3 separate regions of the Homo sapiens genome follow, and all the other regions are linked to region 2. The links are contacts of gene promoters, found by promoter capture Hi-C in blood cells and fetal thymus (Javierre and others, 2016). All regions are on one chromosome and are shown on one strand. The core of a region is centred on a gene start or on the middle of the fragment in contact, and the rest is flanking DNA. Distances in the headings are between cores, read along the strand shown. Region 1 holds the start of PSMD7 (proteasome 26S subunit, non-ATPase 7). Region 2 holds the start of CNOT1 (CCR4-NOT transcription complex subunit 1). Region 3 overlaps IST1 (IST1 factor associated with ESCRT-III).

Evidence for each region. The method cuts DNA at HindIII sites, captures the fragments that hold promoters and counts their contacts. A CHiCAGO score of 5 or more calls a contact.
Region 1: the fragment with the promoter of PSMD7 here is called in contact with the fragment with the promoter of CNOT1 in region 2 in 5 of 17 cell types (naive CD8 T cells, non-activated CD4 T cells, total CD4 T cells and 2 more); the score reaches 14.8 in naive CD8 T cells.
Region 3: a contact is called between a fragment that was not itself captured here and the fragment with the promoter of CNOT1 in region 2, in 1 of 17 cell types (activated CD4 T cells). The highest score is 5.4, in activated CD4 T cells.

What each region holds. Positions count from the first base shown.
Region 1 is chr16:74,293,780-74,298,063 of GRCh38, forward strand. It overlaps PSMD7 (proteasome 26S subunit, non-ATPase 7), which reads left to right and starts at 3,035. Exons shown (of 7, transcript NM_002811.5): 1 at 3,035-3,209. The coding sequence starts at 3,136. RefSeq lists enhancers at 2,268-3,159, 2,950-3,259, 3,160-4,049. The HindIII fragment of the contact is 3,645 bases long and covers 2,368-4,284 here.
Region 2 is chr16:58,627,925-58,632,137 of GRCh38, forward strand. It overlaps CNOT1 (CCR4-NOT transcription complex subunit 1), which reads right to left and starts at 1,902. Exons shown (of 49, transcript NM_016284.5): 1 at 1,804-1,902. RefSeq lists enhancers at 979-1,655, 1,656-2,331, 1,780-1,989, 2,280-2,769. The HindIII fragment of the contact is 12,291 bases long and covers 900-4,213 here.
Region 3 is chr16:71,901,258-71,905,391 of GRCh38, forward strand. All of the region lies in intron 1 of IST1 (IST1 factor associated with ESCRT-III), which reads left to right. Among named protein-coding and RNA genes, the nearest start is that of IST1, 7.8 kb to the left of the region's middle. The HindIII fragment of the contact is 442 bases long and covers 1,714-2,155 here.

The sequences.
Region 1 (4,284 bases), core at 1,785-4,284, about 16 Mb after region 2:
TGGGAGGCTGAGGCAGGCAGATCACAAAATCGAGACCATCCTTCCTGGCCAACATGGTGAAACCCTGTCTCTACTAAAAATACAAACAAATTAGCTGGGCATGGTGGCATGCGCCTATAGTCCCAGCTGCTTGGGAGGCTGAGGCAGGAGAATCACTTGAACCTGGGAGACGGAGGTTACAGGGAGCCGAGATTGTGCCACTGCACTCCAGCCCGGTGACAGAGTAGGACTCCGTCTCAAAAAAAAAGCACTTTGGGCCAGGGTTAATCTTAGTTTTCTGTATGTGGTACGATTTCAGGTGATTTTAATTTATTTCAATTAATTAATTATTTGTGACAAGGTCCTACTGTTCGGAAGGGTCATGAACTCCTGGGCTCAAGTGATCCTCCAACCTCAGCCTTCCAAGTATCTGGGATTACAGGCACAGGCCACCATGCCCAGCTCTATATTCATTTTTATTTATCTGAATAGTGTCATTTTTCCACAATGATCATGTGTAACTAGAATAATTTTTTAAGCTCATAGTCAGTTTCACACTGCTTCAGTGAGTCAGGATTGGAGACACCCAATAAGCTTCGAAACAGCTTGCTTAGGCTTAGTACAACTGCAAAGTGAACTCAGTGTGAAATAAAATATATCACTTTCTAAAGTTTGAAATTTAGTATCTTAATAAAATTAATGCAATTCTTTTGCCTAAGACTGCTGCAAGCAGGCACACCAACCAATTAGGAACTGGGGTCACAGAAACCTGGCTTGATCCTGACCAGCAATGTGATCTTGGAAAGATCCTTCCCAATGTCTGAGCCTTATTGTCATCTTCCATTTCACTATCATAACTAATTATTCATTTATATAGTAATTACTGAATGTCTCCTATGTGCCAGGCACTTTTCAAGACAATGATAATATAAAAGTAAACTAGGGGCCAGGTGCAGTGGCTCACACCTATAATCCCAGCACTTTGGGAAGCCAAGGCAGGCAGATCACTTGAGTTCAGGAGTTCCAGATAAGCCTGGCCAACACAGTGAAACTCCATCTCTACTAAAAATAGAAAAATTAGTGGGGCATGGTGGCGCTCACCTGTAGTCCCAGCTACTTGGGAGGCTGAGGTATGAGAATCGCTTGAACCTGGGAGGTGAAGGTTGCAGTGAGCCAAGATTGTGCCACTGCATTCCGGACTGGGTGACAGAGCGAGACTGTCTCTCATTTATTTAAAAAAAAAAAAAAAAGTAAACAGGAGTTTACAAACTAAACAAGAGCTTACATTCTAATGAGAGACAAAGAATGAACAGAATAAGTAAATTCTACAAACTATTCACAAGTGGTAAAAACTATGGAGAAAACTAAAGCAGAAACACATTAGGGGGAGAAAGACAAAATTTTTTCAAAGCGTGAGAAAAAGCCCACCTCGAGAGCAACATTTGAGCAACAATTTTCATTTGTAATGAGAAAATACCGACTTCGTAAGGTTGTTACAAGCCTTGTTAACACAGCATGGGCCTCACCTGAAAGCTTGTTAGAAGCTCAGAATTTCAGGTCCCATCTCAGACCTACAGAATCAGAATCTGAATTTTAACAAGGTCCCCTGGTGATTTGTAAGCATATCAAAGTTTGAGAAGCATTAATTAAAAGGATTAAATATTTGCGTCTGAACCAGGGCTGGCATATTATAGGCACTCAATAGATTCAATAATTCTTAGTTTTCTTTCCCCATTAACATAACCCTTATATCTTTCTAGTTATAATTAAGAATGAATGGCCAGGCACAGTAGCTCACACCTGTAATCCCAGCAGTTTGGGAGGCTGAGGTGGGAGGATTGCTTGAGGCTGGGGGTTTAAGACCAGCTTGGACAACATAGTGAGACACCAACTGTACCAAAAAAAAAAATGAAAAAATAAAGATAGCATTGAGTCTCTTCAATTAATTATGAATATTAAGCATATCCTGCCATTTACTTCCTTGCAGATCTAGCAGAAAATCTGAAAATAAAGCCAAGTTGCAGACAGAAGACAAAGATAAATTCACATGCAGACAAATTCAAACTCCTGACTACATTAATGTCTCTCATTGGTGGCCAAATTTCAGTCTAATCTTTGCTAATGTTTTTCACCACCCACAAATAAGAGAGACTGAGTGTGTCCCTTGACATTTGGAGATCAGGAAGTCCACCTTAAAAAGACAAGAGGCCAAAATGTTGGGAAAATCCTCTGGTGATAAAGGGAAAGCAAAAATTGTTTAAAAACAGAACAAAATATAAGTAAATAATTCAGGTTGCTTAAGTACTGTTTTCGTTTACAGAAACAGCAACTTCAAATGAGACGATATAAACCTGTATGATTTTTCTTATAATTTGCCTCCTGCAAATAAGCTTAAGTCTTTGTCTACCTTAGTCTTCTCTTTCCTAGCTACATATCACAACATACTTCCTTACTGCCTTCCTTCCGTCTTTTCTTCAACGCTTCTGTAAATTTTGATTTCAAAAGCAACGGCACAATTGCGTTCTTCTAGCCCTAGTTACGCAGTAATATAACGACAGGTGGAAACCTGCAGGTTGCCACGTTCATTGCAAAGTGTCCACAGTAAAGATAAAGGAGAAATTCCCCCGGCAATGAAAACGAGAATGAGATAAATTACCAAATTACATTAAAAGCGTGCTCTTATGTTAGAGATTTAAAGTTCCTCTCAGAAATCGCGGAGGATTTTGACCTGAAGCAAAAGTGAACTTCTTCCGGGTGGTAGAAAAGTAAACTGTCAACTATTTACTTTGGGGGGGTGGCGGGGGGAGGGTGCTGGGAAGGAATTGAGGCGAAAAGCCTCTGCAGGTGACGGTACAGGCCAATACCAGGAGGTCAAGTCGCCGGTGTCCCTTCGGCCCTTAAGTCCAGGGAAACGCACGGCGAGGGACGAGGGGCGATTCCCGCCTTTCTCCAGCCCTTTCTCCGCCCACAAATGACGGCGGTGGCGAAGATCCGGGCCCGCCGCGCGAGGCACTCTGGGAGCGGAAGAAGGAGGCCGCGCGAGGGCTGACGAACCGGAAGAAGAGGAACTGGGCCTGAAAGGGTACCGGTGACCGCTACTGCTGCCGGTGTTTGCGTGTGGCAGGGAGCCAGGCCTGGCGAGCGGGGTGTGTCGCGATGCCGGAGCTGGCAGTGCAGAAGGTGGTGGTCCACCCCCTGGTGCTGCTCAGTGTGGTGGATCATTTCAACCGGTGAGCGAGCGCCCTATAGCTGGGCCGGCGGCGCAGCCGCTGCTGAGTCACGGGCACGCTGGAGATGGCGCGGCGGCCGCGGACGAGCTGGGGACGCAGATAGGGCGGCTGGTGACCCTTACTTGTTCACGAGTCCAGACCAGCGTCGGCTCACGATGCCGGAGTCATCCAGCCTCCCGCCCCTGCCCCAGCCGCCGCCACTTCGGGGCCTTGGCTGCCTGTTCCGTTTAGCCTGTTTGTTTTACAGAGTTCCCTTTCCGAGTTCGTTTTGCCGAAGTTCGTTTTACCGAAATCTGGATGATGCTGGGGGTCGGGAGATGCGGCTAGCTTTAGTTGGCCCTGACCCCCGCCCCCAAGCTCGTGTCTGTCACTTCGTTTTGAAGTTCGTTTTGCCGAAATCTGGATAAAGCCAGGGTGGGGCGGAGGCGGGCTAGCTTCATTTGGCTCTGACCCCCGACCCCAGGGTCGTATCTTCATTTGACTCAGTTGATTTCACTGAAATGTGAATAATGCAAAGTGACTGATGTCTGGATGATGCTTGGGTGGGGCGGAGTGGGCTAGCTCCATTTAGCCCCGCCCCAAGGCTATGTTTATCTTCGTTTGACCGAATTGGTTTCACCGAAATATGGATGATGCTGGAGTGGGGTGCAGGGTGGCTACCTTCATTTGGCCCTGACCCCGGCCCCAGGGTCGTATTTATGTTTATCCTCGTTTAACCAAGTTGATTTCACCGAAATGTGAATGATGCAAAGTGAATGATGCCTGGATGATGCCGGAGTGGGGCTAAGGGGGCTAGCTTCAATTTGGCCCTGACCCCCGCCCCCAGGGTCGTATCTATGTTTGTCTTCATTTGACCGAGTTCCTGTTATCGAAATCTGGATGATGCTCAGCACCCCGAAGGGCTTCCTGGATCAGCTGTGGTTTTAACCCATTAACATTTTTAAATGGGAATCTGATTAGACTCCGTCTCAAAAAAAAAAATGTATATATAGATGAGGTTTCAGTTTTTATTTAAAACACGAGGCCGAGCATGGTGGCTCACGCCTGTAATCCCAGCATTTTGGGAGGCTGAGAC
Region 2 (4,213 bases), core at 652-3,151:
TCAAGCAATTCTCCTGCCTCAGCCTCCCAAGTAGCTGGGATTACAGGCACCTGCCACCACGCCCGGCTAATTTTTGTATTTTTAGTAGAGACGCGGTTGTGACATGTTGGCCAGGCTGGTCTCGAACTCCTGACCTCTGGTGATTCACCTACCTTGGCCTCCCTAAGTGCTGGGATTACAGGCGTGAGCCACCGCGCCCAGTCGATTCTAGACTTGTTTCCACTAAGACTTGGGGAACCCACACTTGTTGAAAAGGAACTAACTCTCCAAACTAGTTTTATCAACATGCTATCATTTCAGTCAAAGCACAGCTAGCCACCTAAAACCATGTATCATCAATGCATATTCTCCTTAGACAAGGTAACAATTTGCAGTATCCTAAAACATAATTATTTAAACTGTTACCACATGTCTTCTTAATAGCTAAAATACTCTGCTGCCAATCTTTAAAAGGGTAGGAATACCAACCGGGACCACAGATCACTTAAGTATTAAACCCAAGTACCTATAGAAAAAAATTGTTCTTAATCTGTTTGACCTTCCTCCTAATATTTTACTTGCCTTCCCTCATTTTTTTAATCCATGTATTCCCTATTCCTATCAAAGGGGCTGTCATAAGGAAAACGTTCGGCATTGTTTCAAACAGTATAATTATATTCACTCAATCACTGACTTAAAAAAAAAAAAAAACCCAAGTAGTCACAGGCTATCGAATTGTAGAGAAATCGGCAGGGTAGGTTAAGCATTGTTACTCAGTTTTCAGGAAGAAAACAGACTTTATTAGAGTCCTAAGAAATGTGACATTTGATTAACTTCATGGGAAAAGTTTGTCATAAAGTTTATTTTAAATACAACATTTTCAAACGCACAGATGTCAAGCATTCTTTTTTAATCTACAAAGCTTACTCCTCGGGGAGTTAGTATCTGTGAGCCCTCTTGGGTGAATTCTGCAAAGGAGGTGGTACTGAAAAAGTATTATTTGTGTTTGGCCTTAAGTACCTCTACAAGACCTGCCGTGGATCTTATCAGCCTTGAGGCCTACAAGTGCTCAGCTCACTAGCGGGACACTTGTCCTGGGTGAGCAGGACCGCCACTACTGCAGACACCGGACCGAGTAGGTGGGGGCCAACTTCAAAGAAAGTGTGAGCGCCCAGGCGCGCGAGTGGAACAAAACCTGTAGCAAGTAATAAGGAAGTGCTTGCTCCCGCCCGCCCTTCCCATCCGGGGACACCCGAAACCTGGGGGGCTTTGACAACGTGCTGGGGGCGTAAGACGGGGAGAGTGGCAGCTCCGAGTACACGGAGAAGAACTGGAAACATGCAAAAACTCCAAACACGGTCCCCCCCGCCAGAAGCCCTAGGCCTCGGAAGCCGATGCCCACTGCAACCATCAGGGAGCAGAGACAGAAACAGTAGTTAAGGAGGTCGTGGAGGTCTCAGAGGGGTGCAACCCGCGCGAAGCCAGGCCCAGCGACACGAACTGCCGCCGCTGCCGCCCCCTGAGCCTCCAGGCCCGGGACAGAGACCACCATGGGTCTCACCCCGCGCTCTACCCTCCGCTTCCTGGAGCCTTCTCGCTGGCCTCTCATCTTCAGAGCGCGAAGCCTCCGAGAGCCGTGTGGAGAAGAGTCCGCCCTCTCCCGCCTCGTCCCACTTCCCCGTCCCGGCTGCCTCTCACTCCCTAGAGCTCCGGGAAACGCTTCCAGTGGCCCCAGGTCCACCCCTGTTCCTCCTCCCACCGGCTCTCGCGTTCCCAAGCTGACACCGCCACCCTACCCTAGCCCCTGACGCCAACCCGCCTCACCTCAGGCGGCTCCGGCAGCGCTGGACACAGGAAACTCCTGGGTCCCCGACTCCGGCTCTCCTCGACCCCCTCTTCGGTTAACTCCGCTTGTTTCTCTACAAAATGGCGCCGGAGGTCGCGCGCTCACGTCGCGGCCTTTCCCCTCCCCGTTCCCATTTCATCATTCGCTGCCCGCCCGAGGAGGGATGGCCCCAGAGCCAGCCAATGGCCGCGCCCCGCCTGTGGCTTCTACCCAATCACCGACAGGTGCCCGCGGATTTAAACCAATCACACTCTATCACTTGCAGAAGTCGAGGAAGAAATCAGGCTCCTGCTAGCAACTACCAATCCGGCCTCCTACTTCGCGGACTTTGGCCAATTGCCGCTCACCAGGCCCAGGGGACCGGAGTCAGAGCCCTCGCGCCTGCGCTCGAGGCGAGGGCCAATAGGGAGAGGCTGATAACTTCGATTTGGGGCTTCACGTACTTCCCACCTGCCCTGGAGGGCTGCGACCAGTGGGGCTTGGCATTGCCTTTGAGGAACAATAAATTATGGAAGGGGCCCATAACTCCTCGCCACCCTGCGCGGGAACTACTTTGAATTACAGTGAAACAGCTTTCCTCCACTTTCCTTCCTCTTTCGAAATGTCACGGTCCAGTAGACTTCGGGGATTCCCAACCGAAACAATCCCCTCCCCTAGTGTCCCTTTGGCGGGGAACGCCAGCCAGAAAGCAAGCCAGGTTGTGACTAGAGTTGGGGCGCTTTGCATCCTGGGATGTGTAGTCGCGCTCCTCTACCCCGTTCCCATCGCAGAAGTAATGCGTCTTCGTTCGTCGCTGCGCCCTAGAAGGAGCAGTGCATGCTGGGGGTTGTAGTCACCCAGGTGGCCACCTTGTCCTCGCTTGCTTCGCTTTGGTCAAGGGAACTTTCTGTTTTAGTTCTGTCTATTGAAGAAGGGACACCTTCCAGAGACGCCTTCCAGAGACGTAGGAGACGCAAGTTCTCTTCCTGGCTTAAGTCCTAGAAGCCGTCTAAGAAAGGATACCCATGTCCTTTGCTCTCAAGAGAAAAAGCATAGAAACATATTTTGCTATGGTTTGTTTGTTAACTATGATAGTTGGTAAGATTTTATACTCACCTGTACCCAAAAGAGAAAGGATTGGGAAGGAAGTGTTGACTGGTTAGCTCTATTACCTTTTGAAATTAAGGCCGGGCGCGGTGGCTCACGCTTGTAATACCAGCTCTTTGGGAGGCTGAGGCGGGTGGATCACGACGTCAGGTGATCGAGACCATCCTGGCTAACACGGTGAAACCCCATCTCTACTAAGATACAAAAAATTAGCCGGGCGTGGTGGCGCACACCTGTAATCCCAGCTACTTAGGAGGCTGAGGCAGGAGAATCGCTTGAACCCGGGAGGCGTGGGTTGCAGTGAGCAGAGATCGCGCCACTGCACTCCAGCCTGAGCGACAGAGCAAAACTCTGTCTCAAAAAAAAAAAAAAAAAAAAAAAGGCAGGGCGCTGCGGATCACGCCTGCAATCCCAGCACTTTGGGAGGCCGAGGCGGGCGGATCACGAGGTCAGGAGATGGAGACCATTCCGGCTAACACGGTGAAACCCCGTCTCTACTAAAAATACAGAAAAATTAACCGGGCGTAGTGGCGGGCGCCTGTAGTCCCAGCTACTCGGGAGGCTGAGGCAGGAGAATGGCGTGAACCCGGGAGGCAGAGGTCGCAGTGAGCCGAGATCGCGCCGCTTGACTCCAGCCTGGGCGACTGAGCGAGACTCCGTCTCCAAAAAAAAAAAAGAAAAGAAAAAGAAATTCAAACCTATCCCTGTGCTCACCCCTGTCCTCAGACTAGGCTCAGTAGGTGGTCTTCTGGCCATCTCTCTCATATTACCTCTCGTGCCCAAAAAAATACTTAAAAAAAATTATGGTAAGAAACACATGAAATTTACCATCTTAATCATTTTTAAGTGTAGAATACAGTAGTGTTAACTATATGCATATTGTTGTACAACAGATCTCTAGAACTTTTTCATCTTGCAAAACTGAAACTACATCTGTTGTTTAACACCTTCCATTTCCCCCTCCCCCTAGTCCCTGACAATCACTATTCTTCTTTATGTTCCTGAGTTTGATTACTTTAGATACCTCATATAAGTGGAATCATGCAGTATTTGTCTTTTTGTGACTGGCCTAGTTAACTGAGCATATGTCCTAAAAACACATCTTTTTTTTTTTTTTTTTTTTTTTTTTTTTTTTTTTTTTTGAGACGGAGTTTTGCTCTTGTTGCCCAGGCTGGAGTGCAATGGTGCAATCTCAGCTCACTGCAACCTCCGGCCTCCCCAGTTCAAGCAAGACTCCTGCCTCAGCCTCCCAGGTACCTGAGATTGCAGGCACGTGCCACCACACCCAGCTAATTTTTGTAT
Region 3 (4,134 bases), core at 685-3,184, about 13 Mb after region 2:
GGCTGGAGTGCAGTAGCACGATCTCGGCTCACTGCAAGCTCCACCTCCCGGGTTCACGCCATTCTCCTGCCTCACCCTCCCAAATAGCTGGGACTACAGGCACCCATCACCACACCCAGCTAATTTTTTGTGTTTTTAGTAGAGATGGGGTTTCACTGCGTTAGCCAGAATGGTCTCGATCTCCTGACCTCGTGATCCACCCACCTCGGCCTCCCAAAGTGCTGGGATTACAGGTGTGAGCCACCGCGCCCTGCGTAGTCTTTTGCTTTAAATTCGTTTTTAGTCTGATTTATTTAATGTACTGGTAATCATTTAGGATATATCCTTTAGTTACTACTTTTGTGGTTTACTGTCATTGTCTTTAATGATTAGTTTCTTCGTAAAATGGGGATCTGTTGAATAGGAGTTGAAAAATCCTCAGTACTTAACAAAATAGTTTAGCAAATTGCTTTTCTTTCCTTAATTCTAAAACAAAACTAGATTATGTAAATTTGTAGAATTTTTTTAAAAGCATGTGGTTTTTAATTAAATTTTCTACTAATTAACATAATACATGAGCGACAGCTTTGTACAAAACACTGTGCTAGGCAGTGTGTGGGTGACATACCGTTCTAGGCAGTATGTAAGAAACAGTTGTCTTGCAGTGAGATTGAAACAGATTAATCAGAATTGTTAAACCGAGGGAAAAAGATATAAAGCATGCCTTAAACATCTTATTTTAACATAAAACACACAAAAGAGGCTAGCTAATCTTTAGATGAAGAGCTAAGACTTTTTAAAATATGGGTCCATTGACTGGAATTTATTTAACAAATGTTTACATGGTGCTTACTGTGTACATATAACACAATGTGCTAATTTCTTTACAAATTTTCACTTAATTCTCATACCAGCCCAAGAGGTGTGAAGGTTCATGTAATATTAGTACTGATTTTCCTCAGATGTTTGATAGAATTTGCCAGAGAAGCCACCTGGGCCTGGATTTTCTTTGGGAATGGTTCTTAATTTTAGATTTAATTGTTTTTTTTTTGAGACAAAGTCTGGCTCTGTCATCCAGGCTGGAATGCAGTGGTGTGATCTCGGCTCACTGCAACCTCCACCTCCTGGGTTCAAGCAATTCTTCTGCCTCAGCCTCCCGAGTAGCTGGGATTACAGATGCCTGCCACCACGCCTGGCTAATTTTTGTATTTTTAGTAGAGATGGGGTTTCACCATGTTGGCCAACCTGGTTTCGAACTCTTGACCACAAGTAATCTGCCCGCCTCGGCTTCCCAAAGTGCTGGGATTATAGGCGTAAGCCACCGCGCCCAGCCTAGATTCAATTTTTGTAATAGATCTAGTGCAGCTATATTTTCTATTTCTTTGTGTCAAATTTAGTAAATTTGAGTTTCTGAGGGATTTGTTTATTTCATTTAATTGTTGAATTTATAGATATATGTTGGTTATAATATCGCCTTTAAAAGTCTTTAGAATCTGTAGTGATATTCACCCTTTCATCGCTGATACTGATAATTTATATGTTTATATGTTCCTTTTCTTTGTGAGTTTGTTATATAGGTATGTCAGTTTTTAAAAAATCGTTTTGAAGAATCAGCATTTAGTTTCCTTGATTTTTTTTCTATTTTTTCTTCTATTTCATTGATTTTTGCTTTCTTTTTGTTGTTTTTGCTTACTTTGGTTTGATTTTGCTCTTTTTCTGGTTCCTTAATGTGGAAGCTTAGATTAGTAATTTGAGACCTTTTTTCTGGAGAGACAGAGTCTTGCTCTGTTGTCCAGCCTAGAGTGCAGTGGGCATGATCATAGCTCACTGCCTCCTCAAACTCTCGTGCTCACTGCCTCAGCCTTGCAAGTAGCTGGGACTCCAGGTGTGTGCCACCATGCCCTGCTAATGTTTTAATTTTTTTGTAGAGAATGGGGTCTTGCTACATTGTCCAAGCTGGTCTCAAACTCCTGGCCTCAAGTGATCCTCTCCCCTTGGCCTCCCAAAGTGCTGGAATTACAGGTGTGAACCACTGAGCCTGGCCTCTTCTTTTCTAATTAAAACCTTAATGATATAATTTTTTCTCTAAGCACTGCCTTAGCTACATCCCACAAATTCGTTACATATATATATTTTTTTTTTCAGTACAAACCTTTAAAAAATTTTTTTCACTTGAAGCTTTCTCTTTGACCTCCAAGCAGTTCATCTAGAAGTATATTGTTGAATTCCCAAATGTTAAGAGATTTTCTGTTGATTTCTAGTTTAATTCCATTACAGTTAAAGAACATTCTTGGTATGACTTCAATTCTATTTAATTTGGGTTTTGTTTTCCTCTTCTTTAAAAATTTAATAGAGACGAGGTCTTACTGTGTTACTCAGGCTGGTCCCTTGGCCTCAAACGATCCTTCTACCTCAGCCTCTCAAGTAGCTGAGGTTATAGGTGAGAGCTACCATGCCTGGTCCTATTTAATTTGTTAAGTTTGATTTTAGAACCCCAGCTATGTCCTACATTCATGAATGTTCTAGTACACTGCTGTGTTGGGTGTAATGTTCTGTAAGTGTCAGTGAGATGCCGTCAGTTGGTGGTGGTGTTCAGTTCACTGTCCTTGTTTGTGTTCTGTCTGCTAGGTTGATCAGTTATGGTGGGAGGTATGTTGAAGCCTCTAACTATAATTAGATTTATTTCTCCTTTCCTCTCTGTTAGTTTTTGCTTTTTGTTTTTGAAGCTCTGTTGTTGGGTGCATTCACAGTTAGGATTGTTGTATCTTCCTGGTGACTTCACCCTTTTATGCTTATGTAATGTCCTTCTGTATCCCTGGTTTTCCTTTCTCTGAAGTCTACTTTGTCTGATTTTAATGTAACCCCTCCAACGTTCTATTTGTTTGGTGGTGGTGGTGGTTGTTTTGAGACGGAGTTTCGCTGTTGTTGCCCAGGCTGAGTGCAGTGGTGTGATCTCCGCTCGCTGCAATCTCTGCCTGCCAGGTTCAAGCAATTTTCCTGCCTCAGCCTCCCAAGTAGCTGGGATTACAGGCTTATGCCACCACGCCTGGCTAATTTTTTATTTTTAGTAGAGATGGGGTTTCGTCATGTTGACCAGGCTGATCTCGAACTCCTGACCTAAGTGATCCACCTGCCTCGGCCTGCCAAAGTTTTGGGATTACAGGCGTGAGCCATTGCGCCCGGCCTGTTGTTTTGAGACAGGATCTTGCTCTGTTGCCCAGTCTGGAGTGCACTTGCACAAACATGGCTGTCTGCAGCCTTGACCTCCTGGGCTTAAGCAGTTCTCCCACTTCAGTCCCCCCGAGTAGCTGGGACTACAGGCACATGCTACCGTGTCCAGCTAATTTTTATTTTTAATTGTAGAGATGGGATCTTGCTCTTAGTCTGGTCTTGAACTCCTGAGCTCCAGCGATCCTCCCACATCAGCCTCCCAAAGTGCTGGGCTTACGGCATGAGCCACCATACCTGGCCTCCAACTTTCTTTTGATTAGTGTTTGCATATATACCTTTCCCATACTTTACTTTTAAACTACCTACATTATTATATTTGAAGTGAGTTTGTTGTTGACAGTATATAGTGGATCATTTTTTGGTTCATTCTCACAATATCTGTCTTTTAATTGTGTTTATACCATTTTCATTTAATTATGTAATTTTTGAATGTTTGAGTTTAGGTCTACATTTTATTATTTGTTTTCTGTTCTCTCATTTTTGTTTCTGTTTCCTGCTTTTTGAGCTATTTGAACATATTTTTAAATTCCATTAAAAAATTTTTTTTTTGCTTTTTTTGTGTAGTATTTTTGTTTTTTTGTTTTTTGAGATGGAGTCTCACTGTGTCACCCAGGCTGGAGTGTAGTGGCGTGGTCTCAGCTCACTGCAGCCTCTGCCTCCCGTGTTCAAGCAATTCTCCCGCCTCAGCCTCCCAAGTAGCTGGGACTGCAGGTGCGTGCCATCACACCGGGCTAATTTTTGTATTTTTAGTAGAGATGGGGTTTTACTATGTTGGCCAGGCTGGTCTCGAACTCCTGACCTCGTGATCCACCCACCTTGCCCTCCCAAAGTGCTGCGATTATGGGCATGAGCCACCATGCCTGGCCGTATACAATTTTTTAGTGGTTGCTCTAGGGGTTACAATGGATGAACTTTTCTTTTTTT